Linked DNA regions of Homo sapiens: region 2 is linked to region 1. Evidence: promoter capture Hi-C in human tissues and cell types (Jung and others, 2019). All regions are on one chromosome and are shown on one strand. The core of a region is centred on a gene start or on the middle of the fragment in contact, and the rest is flanking DNA. Distances in the headings are between cores, read along the strand shown.

The links. Contacts are between HindIII fragments. The study calls those that stand out against the background at their distance.
Region 2: a fragment that was not itself captured here is called in contact with the fragment with the promoter of AIP in region 1 in 1 of the 25 tissues and cell types used here (liver).

The regions. Positions count from the first base shown.
Region 1 is chr11:67,479,782-67,485,744 of GRCh38, forward strand. AIP (AHR interacting HSP90 co-chaperone) reads left to right here and starts at 3,245. Exons shown (of 6, transcript NM_003977.4): 1 at 3,245-3,476. The coding sequence starts at 3,378. RefSeq lists enhancers at 3,087-3,146, 5,294-5,343, 5,799-5,963. The HindIII fragment of the contact is 17,225 bases long and covers 2,747-5,963 here.
Region 2 is chr11:67,137,345-67,143,307 of GRCh38, forward strand. All of the region lies in intron 2 of KDM2A (lysine demethylase 2A), which reads left to right. The region is part of intron 1 of LOC124902695 (a long non-coding RNA gene); the gene reads left to right. Among named protein-coding and RNA genes, the nearest start is that of KDM2A, 21 kb to the left of the region's middle. The HindIII fragment of the contact is 5,702 bases long and covers 166-5,867 here.

The sequences.
Region 1 (5,963 bases), core at 1,995-4,494:
TGTGCAGGCTGGAGTGCAGTGGTGAGATCATAGCTCACTGCAGCCTCGATCTCCTGGGCTCAAGGGATCATCCTGCCTCAGCCTCTTTAGTAGCTGGGACTACAGGCATGTGCCACTATGCCCAGCTAATTTTCTTTCTTTTTTTCTTTTTGTAAAGACTGGGTCTTGCTATCTTGCCCAAGTTGTTACTCATGGGCTCAAGCTATCCTCCTGCCTCAGCCTCCCAAAGTGCTGGGATTCTAGGCAGGACTTCTAACACTTACTGATCAGCATCATTCCTAGAGAGCATCATTGCCTTGTTCCTGATCTTGAAGAAATTGTGGATACTTATTCCATCATACTTAATTGTATGCAGCTTTTATCAACCTGAGAAAATTCCTCTTTGTTCCTAACTGTGAGTTTTTATCATAAATAGTCACAGAAGTTCATAAAATGCTTTTTCTGCATATTTTGAGATAACCATATGCATTTTCTCCTTTAGTTAACCGACGTGGTGAATTACAGTAATAGATGTTTATAATGTTGAACCATTCTTACATTCTTGGAATAAACTCTACTTGATCTTCATGCATTTTCTTTGGAAAAAAAATTCTTTTTTTTTTTTTTGAGACAGTCTCGATCTGTCATCAGGCTGGAGTGCAGTGGTGTGATCTCGGCTCACTGTAACCTCCACCTCCTGGGTTCAAGCGATTCTCCTGCCTCAGTCTCCCTGAGTAGCTGGGATTACAGGCGCCTGCCACCACGCCTGGCTAATTTTTATATTTTTAGTAGAGACGGGGTTTCACCATGTTGGTCAGGCTGGTCTTGATCTCTTGACCTCGTGATCTGCCCGCCTCGGCCTCCCAAAGTGCTGGGATTACAGGCGTGAGCCACCGTGCCAGCCCGGAAAAAAAAATTATTCTTTTTTTTTTTTGGAATGAAGTTTCGCTCTTGTTGCCCAGGCTGGAGTGCAATGGTGCAATCTCGGCTCACTGCAACCTCTGCCTCCCGGGTTCAAGCGATTCTCCTGCCTCAGCCTCCTGAGTAGCTGGGATTATAGGTGCCCGCCACCACGCCTGGCCAATTTTTGTATATTTAGTAGAGACGGGGTTTCACCATGTTGACCAGGCTGGTCTTGAACTTCTGACCTGAGGTGATCCACCTGCCTCAGCCTCCCAAAGAGCCGGGATTACAGGCGTGAGCCACCACGCCCGGCAAAAAAATTATTCTTAATTGTGGTAAAATACACATAACATAACATAAAATTTACCATCTCAACCGTTTTGAAGTGTATACTCAGTGGCGTTAAGTATATGCACACTGTTATGCAACCAATTTCCAGAACAGTTTCGTCTTTCAAAACAGAAATTCTACACTCATCAAAGAACAAGTCTCCATTTCCCACCCCCCTGCCCCCAGCCCTTGGCAATCACCATTCTGCTGTCATTTTTTTTTTTTTTTGAGATGGAGTCTTGCTCTGTCGCCCAGGCTGGAGTGCAGTGGCGCGATCTTGGTTCAATGCAACTTCTGCCTCCTGGGTTCAAGCGATTCTCCTGCCTTAGCCTCCCGAGTAGCTGGGATTACAGGCACGTGCCACCATACCCAGCTAATTTTTGTATTTTTCGTAGAGATGGGGTTTCTCCATGTTGGCCAGGCTGGTCTCAAACTCCTGACCTCAGGTGATCTGCCTGCCTTGGCCTCCAAAAGTGCTGGGATTACAGGTGTGAGCCACCGCGCCCGGCCCTGCTTTCTGTCTTTGTGAATCTGACTACTCTAGGTACCTTACATAAGTAGAATAATACAGTATTTTCCTGTATGTGACTGGTACTGTTATTTCACTTAGCATATTGATGCTTTTTTTTTTTTTTTGAGATGGGGTCTCACTCTATCACCCAGGCTGGAGTGCAGTGGTGCGATCTTGGCTCACTACAACCTCCATCTCCTGGGCTCAAGCAATCCTCCAGCCTCAGCCTGCTGAGTAGCTGGGACCACAGGCGTGCACCACCACACCACCTAATTTTTTGTATTTTTGGTGAAGATGGTATTTTGCCATGTTGTCCAGGCTGGTCTTGAACTTGTGAGCTCAAGGAGATCCAGGAGATCCACTTGCCTTGGCCTCCCAAAGTGCTGGTATTAGAGGCATAAGCCACCACACCTGCCCCATACTGATGCATTTTTACATGACATTAGTGAATTCAATTAGCCTAGTATTTTATTTAGAATGTTTCATATCAGCTGGGCGCTGTGGCTCACGCCTGTAATCCCAGCACTTTGGGAGGCCGAGGTGGGCGGATCACGAGGTCCGGAGATTGAGACCATCCTGGCTAACACGGTGAAACCCTGTCTCTACTAAAAATACAAAAAATTAGCCGGGCATGGTGGCGGGCGCCTGTAGTCCCAGCTGCTCGGGAGGCTGAGGCAGGAGAATGGCGTGAACCCGGGAGGCAGAGCTTGCAGTGAGCTGAAATTGTGCCACTGCACTCCAGCGTGGGTGACAGAGCGAGACTCCGTCTCAAAAAAAGAAAAACAAAAGTTGTTTTAGCCCCAAAGTACCTCATTTCTCTTTTCTTTTAATTTAATTTTTTTTTTTTGTTTTGTTTTGAGACAGCATCTCGCTCTGTCGGCTAGCCTGGAGTGCAGTGGCACGAACACGGCCCACTGCAGCCTCGAACTCCTGGGCTCAAGCGATCCTCTCGCCTCGGCCTCCCAAAGTGGTGGGGTTACAGGGCCACCGCGCCCGGCGCTAAAGTACCTCATTTCTATCATTCATCGATTATTCCCTAATATTAATTGGGCACAACTATGACTCATTTCCGACCCCGCAATGGGCTCTCTTGGTCTCCTTCTCCACCTTTCTTTCCCTCTTCCTCTTTTTATTTTTTGAAAGAGGAAGATCCAGGATGCAAGAGTCCCGACAATCATACTAGATATGCGAAAGAGAAAAAGCCGGAAGAAAATACACAAAAATCATAACACTTTGAGGGTGTGGCTTACGGGTGTTTTTTTTTTTTTTCATTTTCCTAACTCTGCAGTGCTGTTATATTCCATCCACAACTTCAAACAAAGTGCCACACGGCCGCAGTCCCAATCAATTCAATGACAATTGTTAGGGACGTCCTCGTCCCGCCCGGCCCGCGGACCCCGGCCCTTCCTCCTTGACAGGCTGGGGTCCAGCCCCGAGACATTCCTAGGCTCCGCCCCCGAGCAGACGCGCGCGCTCAGCCCCAGCGCAGAGAACCAATCACCATCCGTTTCCACGCTCAGTCCCTTTTGGCTTCTGCCCTCAACCAAAATGGCGCTAGCTCGGAAGCTGCCGAGGTGCTAGGAGTTGCCGAAGCAAGTCCGGAAGCTACCGAGCGAGTCCGGAAGTTGCCGAAAGGGAGCAGCGGGGAAGGAGGATGGCGGATATCATCGCAAGACTCCGGGAGGACGGGATCCAAAAACGTGTGATACAGGAAGGCCGAGGAGAGCTCCCGGACTTTCAAGATGGGACCAAGGTTCGTGTCTACCCTACCCTTCTCCCCCTCTGCGGCGTGGTGCGCATGCGAGGCGGGAGGAGGCCTTAGGCGAGAGGTTGCGCATGCCCAGAGGGCAGCGTCCACTGCCCCTACCGCTCACATGCAGAACTCGACGCTGATTGGGCTGAATTTAAGTAGGGGGTGAATTCGGGCCTGTCTGCCCCGCCCCCTGGCTCGGCCTTGTAGCAGCATTGGTGGGGGAGGCCGTCAGTCATCACAAGCGGGTTGGGGTTGGGGGTTGATCTCAGTGCTTGGGCAGACCCCACGCTGGAGGAAACCCAGGGCCGGGAGTGGTCCTCGGGTATCTGGGTTTCAAGGCTCATGATCCTTTGTAGATGGAAGGGCCTTCTGAAAACACTTAGACCAACTGCCGCTGTTTAGAGTGGAAAACCAAGACCCTGGGACGTGCAAAGCCGGAGAACGGGCCCAGAGGTCAGGTCTCCCAGACAGGGACTCTTTAGCAGCCTTCCTGCTGCACTAGGGGCTTGTTGGGACAGATGAGGGTTGGGAAGTAAAGAACCTCCCACTTTTCTCCTTTTTGCCAGGCCCCCAGATCCAGCCCCTCTGCCCGCTTCTCCCCCAACCTACAACTCCAGGCTTCCCTGCTTCTCCTGTAGTTGCCTCCTCCCGGAGTGCTTTTCCCAGCTGCCACTTGTTTGCAGAGTAGGGAACCTCCCAGGGGCAGCCCCTGTGCCCAGCAGAGCAGTCAGGCAGGACATGCACATTGAGCAAATGAGCACATGCCCCCTGGCCAGCACCGTGCCGAATCGGGCAGCTAAGCATCCTAGCCCAGTGCAGTATAAGTGCCCTGAGAGCAGAGGGGAGCTGCATGGCTGGAGTGATCCGCTGTATGAAAAGATATCTTCTCTAAGAAGAGACAGGATGTGTGGTGTGGGTTCATGCCCCCATGTGCTGGGGGGTTGGTGGCGTTGGAAGAAGGGGCTGGCAAGGGGGATCCTGGATGGAACAGACATCAGAAGGAGAGATGTGAACAATGGCACCCCAAGATCAGAAACAGGTGGTGTTAAATAACCAATCGCCAGCACTGATTGAGTGCTCACTATTCGAACATTGTGCTACATGCTTCACACGTTTATTTCCTACAATGTGAGATAGGTACTGTTGTTGATTCCGTTTTACCGATGTGGAAACTGACTTCAGAGATGCAGCATGGTGCGGCAGTTAAGAGCGTGGGCTCCTCTAACCATATCCTGTCGAGAGTTCAATCTCCAAACCTCTTTTCTCTGCACCCACCCCCAGTGTTATCTCTAAAAACTCTCCCTGCCCGGATTACTCCCAGATGCAGCTCTCCAGTCATTAACTGTCTCTTAAACCTGATATATAGCTCCCTACTCACCATATCCACCTGGAAGCCTGGTTGGCAACTCACACTTAACCTGCTCCACCTGAGGCTTCTCCGTGTCAGGGGAACCAACAACCTTCCCGTTGTTCAGGGCAAAAACCTTAGCATCTCTGTGGTCCTCCCAGTCTCACATCCAACATCACATCCTCAATATCCAGCCAGGATCTGAGTTCTCACCACTTCTGCCATCACTGCTTGGGTCCAGGCCATCCTCATCTCCAGCCTGGGTTACTGCAGCGACCTCTAACTCTCCTGCCTCTTTTGTCCCTCTGTGGTCTGTTCTCGTCCCAGCAGCCGAGCCCATGCCAGATTCAATTCCTTTTTTGCTCGGAGCCACTCAGTGGCTTCCATCACAGAGTGAAAAACAGAGGCCTCACCATAGCCTACAGGCCCTGTGAGGTCCACCCCTACTGACCTGGGTGAGCTCCCCTGCTGACCCTGTGGTGTACCCCACCCCCTCCTTCACTCTGCTCTGCCACACTGGCATTGCTGCTCTTGAACACATCATGCATTTGAAACGGGAAGTTCCCTTGTCTCCCTCGCAGGGCGTGCGATGGGGGAGTGGCTCGCTTCTTCAGTGCCCCGCTGCTCAGACCTCTGGGGGAGCATACAGATGGGCAGGCTGTGGGCTCCGACCTCATGGCAGTGTCTAGGGGTGAATATTTACAGCTCCGTGTGTTCTAGGGTGCTCTTTTAGTTTGTCTATGGGAGGCTTGTGTTAACCAGCTCAATTAGACCCCCTTCCTTATCACAAGGACAGAGGGCTTTCTGTAGTCTGGGGTTTTCTTGCCTTGATGTACTGGAGTACTGGAGAATTAGATCACTTGTGGGCTTGGAGAATGATTGCAAATTTTTTTTTATTTTTTATTTTATTTTTTTTTTCTGAGATGGAGTTTCACTCTTGTTGCCCAGGCTGGAGTGCAATGGCACAATCTCTGCCTCCCAGGTTCAAGCAATTCTCCTGCCTCAGCCTCCCAAGTAGCTGAGATTACATGTGCCTGACACCAGGCCCGGCTAATTTTTAAAAATGTTTTTAGTAGAGATGGGCTTTTACCATGTTGGCCAAGCTGGTTTCAAACGCCTTTTTTTTTTTTTTTTTTTTT
Region 2 (5,963 bases), core at 1,767-4,266, 340 kb before region 1:
GGGTCAGGGAGAGGGCAAGAATAGATTTAGGGAGATTAATTAGGAGGCTATTATATTGGTTCAGGTAAGACAATGATGTGGTATGGTTGAGTGCTGACAGAACTAGAGAGGAGATTGATTCTATGATTGAGATTCTATGATTGATTCTATGAGAACTATATATGAAATAGAATCATGGGACTTTTCATTGAATGTTTTGAGGGTCAGTGTAAAGGAGGTAAATATAAGTATGACTCCCAAGTTTTCCTAGTGCATGGCTTATAATACAGTTCTTTTATTGAAATAGGGTACACTGAAGGAAGAGCAGGTTTGGGGACTGAGCAAAGGAGCATAAGTTCAGTTTTGAGAAAACTTGAAAAGGTTAAATGAGAAGTGCTTGTGAAATATCACAGTAGAACTGTTGAGTAGGTAATTGGGTATGATTCTGGGTCTAAGGAAGGACTTACTGGCATATGATTGGGTCTTTTTTTGAGAAGGGGTCTCAGCTCTGTCGCCCAGGCTGGAGTGCAGTGGTGCGATCTCGGCTCACTGCAACCTCTGCCTCCCAGGTTCAAGTGATTCTTCTGCCTCAGCCTCCTGAGTAGCTGGGACTGCAGGCATGTACCACCATGCCCGGCTAATTTTTTGTATTTTAGTAGAGACGGGGTTTCACCATGTTGGCCAGGATAATCTCTATCTCCTGACCTTGTGATTCGCCTGCCTCAGCCTCCCAAAGTGCTGGGATTACAGGCGTGAACCACCGCGCCTGGCCAAACTATAGTATTATTATAGGACCACCGTCACATATACAGTTGTTGAGTGAAATGCCGTTAAGTGGCACAAGTCTGTATTTGACCGTGAGTCTCTTTTTACCTAGTAAGAGTAGACTTCTGTAAGTCAAGGAATATGCTTTATTCAGGTGCTCAAAACTTGTCTATTGAATTGAACAAAAATGTGTTATGTAGTCCTAAAAATACATAAAATGTAGAGAACACAGTAAGTGAATTTCAACAATGAAAAGAACCTTAGATTGCTAATCAGGTTGCATAGGTTAGTTATCTAGCTTTATTTTATTCACCTACAAGGTTCTTAGTTCTAATAATTTAAACCAGTTGTTTTCAAAGTGTGCTCCCCAGACCACATTACCTGGGAACTAGTTAGAAAGGGAATTCTTGGGCTGGGCACGGTGGCTCACACCTGTAATCCCAGCACTTTGGGAGGCTGAGGTGGGCAGATCAGCAGAGGTCAGGAGTTCGAGACCAGCCTGACCAACATGGCAAAATCCCATGTCTACCAAAAACACAAAAATTAACCAGGTGTGGTGGTGTGCACCTGTAATCCAACCTACTAGGGAAGCTGAGGCAGAAGAATTGCTTGAACCTGGGAGGTGGAGGTTACAGCGAGCCAAGATTGTGCCACTACATTCTTGGATCCTACCCCAAACGTACTGAATCAGAAAGTCTGGCAGTGGGGACTCAACAGCCTGTGTTTCAACTAGTTCTCCAGGTGATTCTGATAGATGGTAAAGTTTGAGAACCATTGGAATTGTTGTAGCAGTTTTTCTGTTTGTTGGAAACAAAAAATTAACTAGAGGTAGTTACCTTAATTTCACACTTCACAGCTTAAAGTTATTTTAAAATCGTTTCTTCATATTTCCTGCCAGTTGAATTTGCTGACATTTTTCTAAACCACTAATGGTATCTTAGGCACAGTATCCTTGAATCACAGGCAGTAGTATTAAGTTTCTGAAGACTGCTTCTCCCCCCACCATGCTCCTTAAGTCTTATTTAAATAACCTTCAGTGAGTACAGAAGGGGCCCATTACTACGCCCTTCCTGGTGACACCAGTTAACCAAGCCAGGGCAAGTAAGTGTACCCTGCAGCCCTGCCAGCCAAAGATTGCTACTTTTTTTTTTTTTCCTTTTTTCTTTTTTCTTTTGAGACGGAGTCTCGCTTTGTCCCCCAGGCTGGAGTGCAGTGGCATGATCTCAGCTCATTGCAACCTCCGCCTCCCAGGTTCAAATGATTCTCCTGCCTGAGCCTCCCAAGTAGCTGGGATTACAGGCACCCACCACCACGCCCAGCACATTTTTGTATTTTTGGTAGAGATGGGTTTTCTCCGTGTTGGCCAGGCTGGTCTTGAACTCCTGACCTCTGGTGATTCGCCCACCTCGGCCCCCCAAAGTGCTAGGATTACAGGCGTGAGCCACTGCACCCAGCCTCTTTTTGTTTTTTAGAGATGGATCTGTCTACGTTGGTTGCCCAGGCTGGTCTTGAACTCCTAGGCTCAAGTGATCCTTCTGCCTCAGCCTCTCAAAGTACTAGTATTACAGGCATGAGCCACCACGACTGGCCCAAAGGTTGCAAGGTTGCTGCTGCTATTTTTTTTTTTAATTTATTTTTTGAGACAGAGTCTCGCTCTGTCACTCAGTCTGGAGTGCGCTGGCACGATCTTGGCTCACTGCAACCTTTGCCTCCCGGGTTCAAGTGATTCTTCTGCCTCAGGTCCTGAGTAGCTGGGATTAGAGGCATGTGCTACCATGCCTGGCTATTTTTGTATTTTTTTAGTAGAGTCCGGGTTTCACTGTGTTGCACTGGCTGGTCTCCTGACCTCAACTGATGTGTGCATCTTGGCCTTCCACAGTGTTGGAACTATAGGCGTGAGCCACCGCACCTGGCCTACTCCTGTGTTCTTAGCTTGAGTTCCTGGTTGATGGGTGGTGCCACCAATTGAGAGAGAATACCATGGTTTGTGGATTGGGTACGGTGGCTTACACCTATAATCCCAACACTTTGGGAGGCTAAGGCAGGAGGAGTTCAAGGCTTGAGCTCAGGAGTTGGAGACTAACCTGGGCAACATGGCGAAATCCCGTCTCTCCAAAAAATACAAAAATTAGCTGGCTGTCATGGCGTGTACCTCTAGTCCCAGGTAATTGGGAGGCTGAGGTGGAAGGATCACTTGAGCCTGGAAGGTCAAGGCTGCAGTGAGCTTTGATTACGCCACTGCACTCCATCCTGGGTGACAGAGTGAGATCTTGTCTCAAAAAAAAAATATCATGGTTTTATACAAAGAATATAGGTCGGAAGACCACCCTGAGCAACATAGCAAGACTGTCTCAAGAAAACCTTAAAAGAAGTTACAAGTAGGCCTGGTGCGATGGTTCACTCCTGTAATCCCAGCACTTTGGGAGGTGGAAGCGGGTGGATCACCTGAGGTCAGGAGTTTGAGACCAGCCTGGCCAACATGGTGAAACCCTGCCTCTACTAAAAATACAAAAAATTAGCCAGGCGTTGTGGCAGGCGCCTGTAATCCCAGCTACTTGGGAGGCTGGAGCAGGAGAGTTGCTTGAACCCGTGAGGCGGAGGTTGCAGTGAGCCAAGATTGTGCCATTGCACTCCAGCCTGGCAAAAAGAGTGAAACTTTGTCTCAAAAAAAAAAAGTTACAAGTATACTTTTGATTTATTTATATTAACCTTTCTGTCTCTAGTAGCATATTTAATTCACCAGTTATTTATTGGGTCTACTTTATGAAGAACCTTACCAGAGATTCTGGGTTAACGTCATGAGGTATCACCATAGATTTGGATCACTTTTTATTAGGTAGAACTAGTTTAAAAAACGCTATATTTTAATTACTGCATGGATTACTTAATTTTTCTCCAGACCTCTTACCTCATGCTTGCTCAAGTCAAAGGTTGATAAATACTACTCATTTAGCTTTGTGGGCACTTTCTCAGTTTATCCCCCTCTCTTTGGAGTGTCACTCCACGTTGTCTCATCGATGAAAATATTAGGAACTCTCCTAAACATTGTATTTTGGGGAACACAAGCATCTGAAGATACCCATCCATTTACTTCTGTCCCTTATTATTTAACCATTTCTTCATATGCGAAACAATTTTTCCATATTGTTTTGGGGGTACATGTGATACTTTATTAGATGCATAGATTGTAATGACCAAGTCAGAGTATTTGGGGCATCTTATCACCTTGAATATTTAATAGGAACATTTCAGGTCCTCCTCTCAAGCTATTTTGAAATATACAATTCATTGTTATTGGCCGGGCGCGGTGGCTCACGCCTGTAATCCCAGCACTTTGGGAGGCCAAGGCGGGCGGATCATGAGGTCAGAAGATCGAGACCATCCTGGCTAACATGGTGAAACCCCGTCTCTACTAAAAAATACAAAAAATAAGCCAGGTGTGGTGGCAGGTACCTGTAGTCCCAGCTGCTCGGGAGGCTAAGGCAGGAGAATGGCGTGAACCCGGGAGGCAGAGCTTGCAGTGAGCTGAGATCGTGCCACTGTATTCCAGCCTGGGCGACAGAATGAGACTCGTTCCAAAAAAAAAAAAAAAAAATATATATATATATATATATATATAAAATTCATTGTTACTAATTATAGTCACCCTACTTACGATTGAGCTTCAGAACTTATTCCTTCTAACTGTATGTTCATGCCCATTAACCATCCTCTCTTTATGCACCCCTTTGCCCCTCATACACACCCTTCCCAGCCTCTGGTGTCCATCATTCTGTTCTCTGTTTATGAGATCAGCTTTTTAGTTCTTTAATATTTGAGTGAGAACACGTGATACTTCTCTTTCTGTGCCTGGTTTATTTCATGTTATTTAATATTCTCCAATTCCATCCATGTTCCGAAAATGACAGAATTTCATTCTTTTTTATGGATGAATGGTATTTCTTTCATTCATTCATTCATTCATTTTTGAGACGGAGTCTTGCTGTGTCGTCCAGGCTGGAGTGCAGTGGCACGATCTCCGCTCACTGCAACCTCCACTTCCCAGGTTCAAATGATTCTCCTGGCTCAGCCTCCTGAGTAATGGTTTACAGGTGTGCATCACCACGCCCGGCTAATTTCTGCATTTTTAGTAGAGGTGGGGTTTGACCATGTTGGTCAGGCTGGTCTCAAACTCTTGACCTCAGGTGATCCACCCGCCTTGGCCTCCCAAAGTGCTGGGATTACAGGCATGAGCCACCGCGCCCACTGTATATCTAGTTTTTTTAGGGCATTAAAAATAAGGCTGGGTGTGGTGGCTCATGCCTGTAATCCCAGCACTTTGGGAGGCCAAGGCAGGCGGATCACCTGAGGTCAGGAGTTCTAGACTAGCCTGGCCAAGATGGTGAAACCCTGCCTCTACTAAAAATACAGAAATTAGCCGGGTGTGGTGGCAGGTGCCTGTAATCCCAGCTACTGGTGAAGTTGGCCGGGGGGTTGGGGTTGGGGTTGGGGTTGGGGTTGGGGTTGGGGGGGCGTCAAGGCAAGAGAATCGCTTGAACCTGGGAAGCGGAGGTTGCAGTGAGCCGAGATTGCACCATCGCACTCCAGACTGGGGGACAAGCGTGAGACTCCATCTCAAAAAAAAAAGTTAGAAATAAAAGTACAAGGAGCTCAATTATGTATTTGTTTTTCTGTGTTTCCTATTAAATCCTTATTCCTAGAAGTACAGTAATTAAAATTAGAAACATTTAAAAAACTTACTATGGAAAGATTATATGAAGTAAATAGTGGTGTGATTAACACCCATATACCCATTGCCAAGCTTCAACAATTATCAAAACTTGGAAATCTTCTTTTATCTCTATCTTCTACTCCCTCTCAGTTGTCTTGAATTAAATCCCAGATAGTATTACTTCATCTGTAAACACTTCAGTTATATATATATATCTATTCTTTTTTTTTTTTTTTTTTGAGATGGAATCTTGCTCTTGTCGCACAGGCTGGAGTGCAATGACATGATCTCAGCTCACTGCAACCTCTGCCTCCCAGGTTCAAGTGATTCTCTTGCGTCAGCATCCCGAGTTGCTGGGATGACAGGCATACACCAGTACACTCGGCTAATTTTTGTATTTTTAGTAGAGACGGGGTTGGCTGGTCTTGAACTCGTGACCTCAGGTGATCCTCCCGCCTCCGCCTCCCAAGGTGTTGGGATTACAGCCGTGAGCCACTGCATCTGGCCT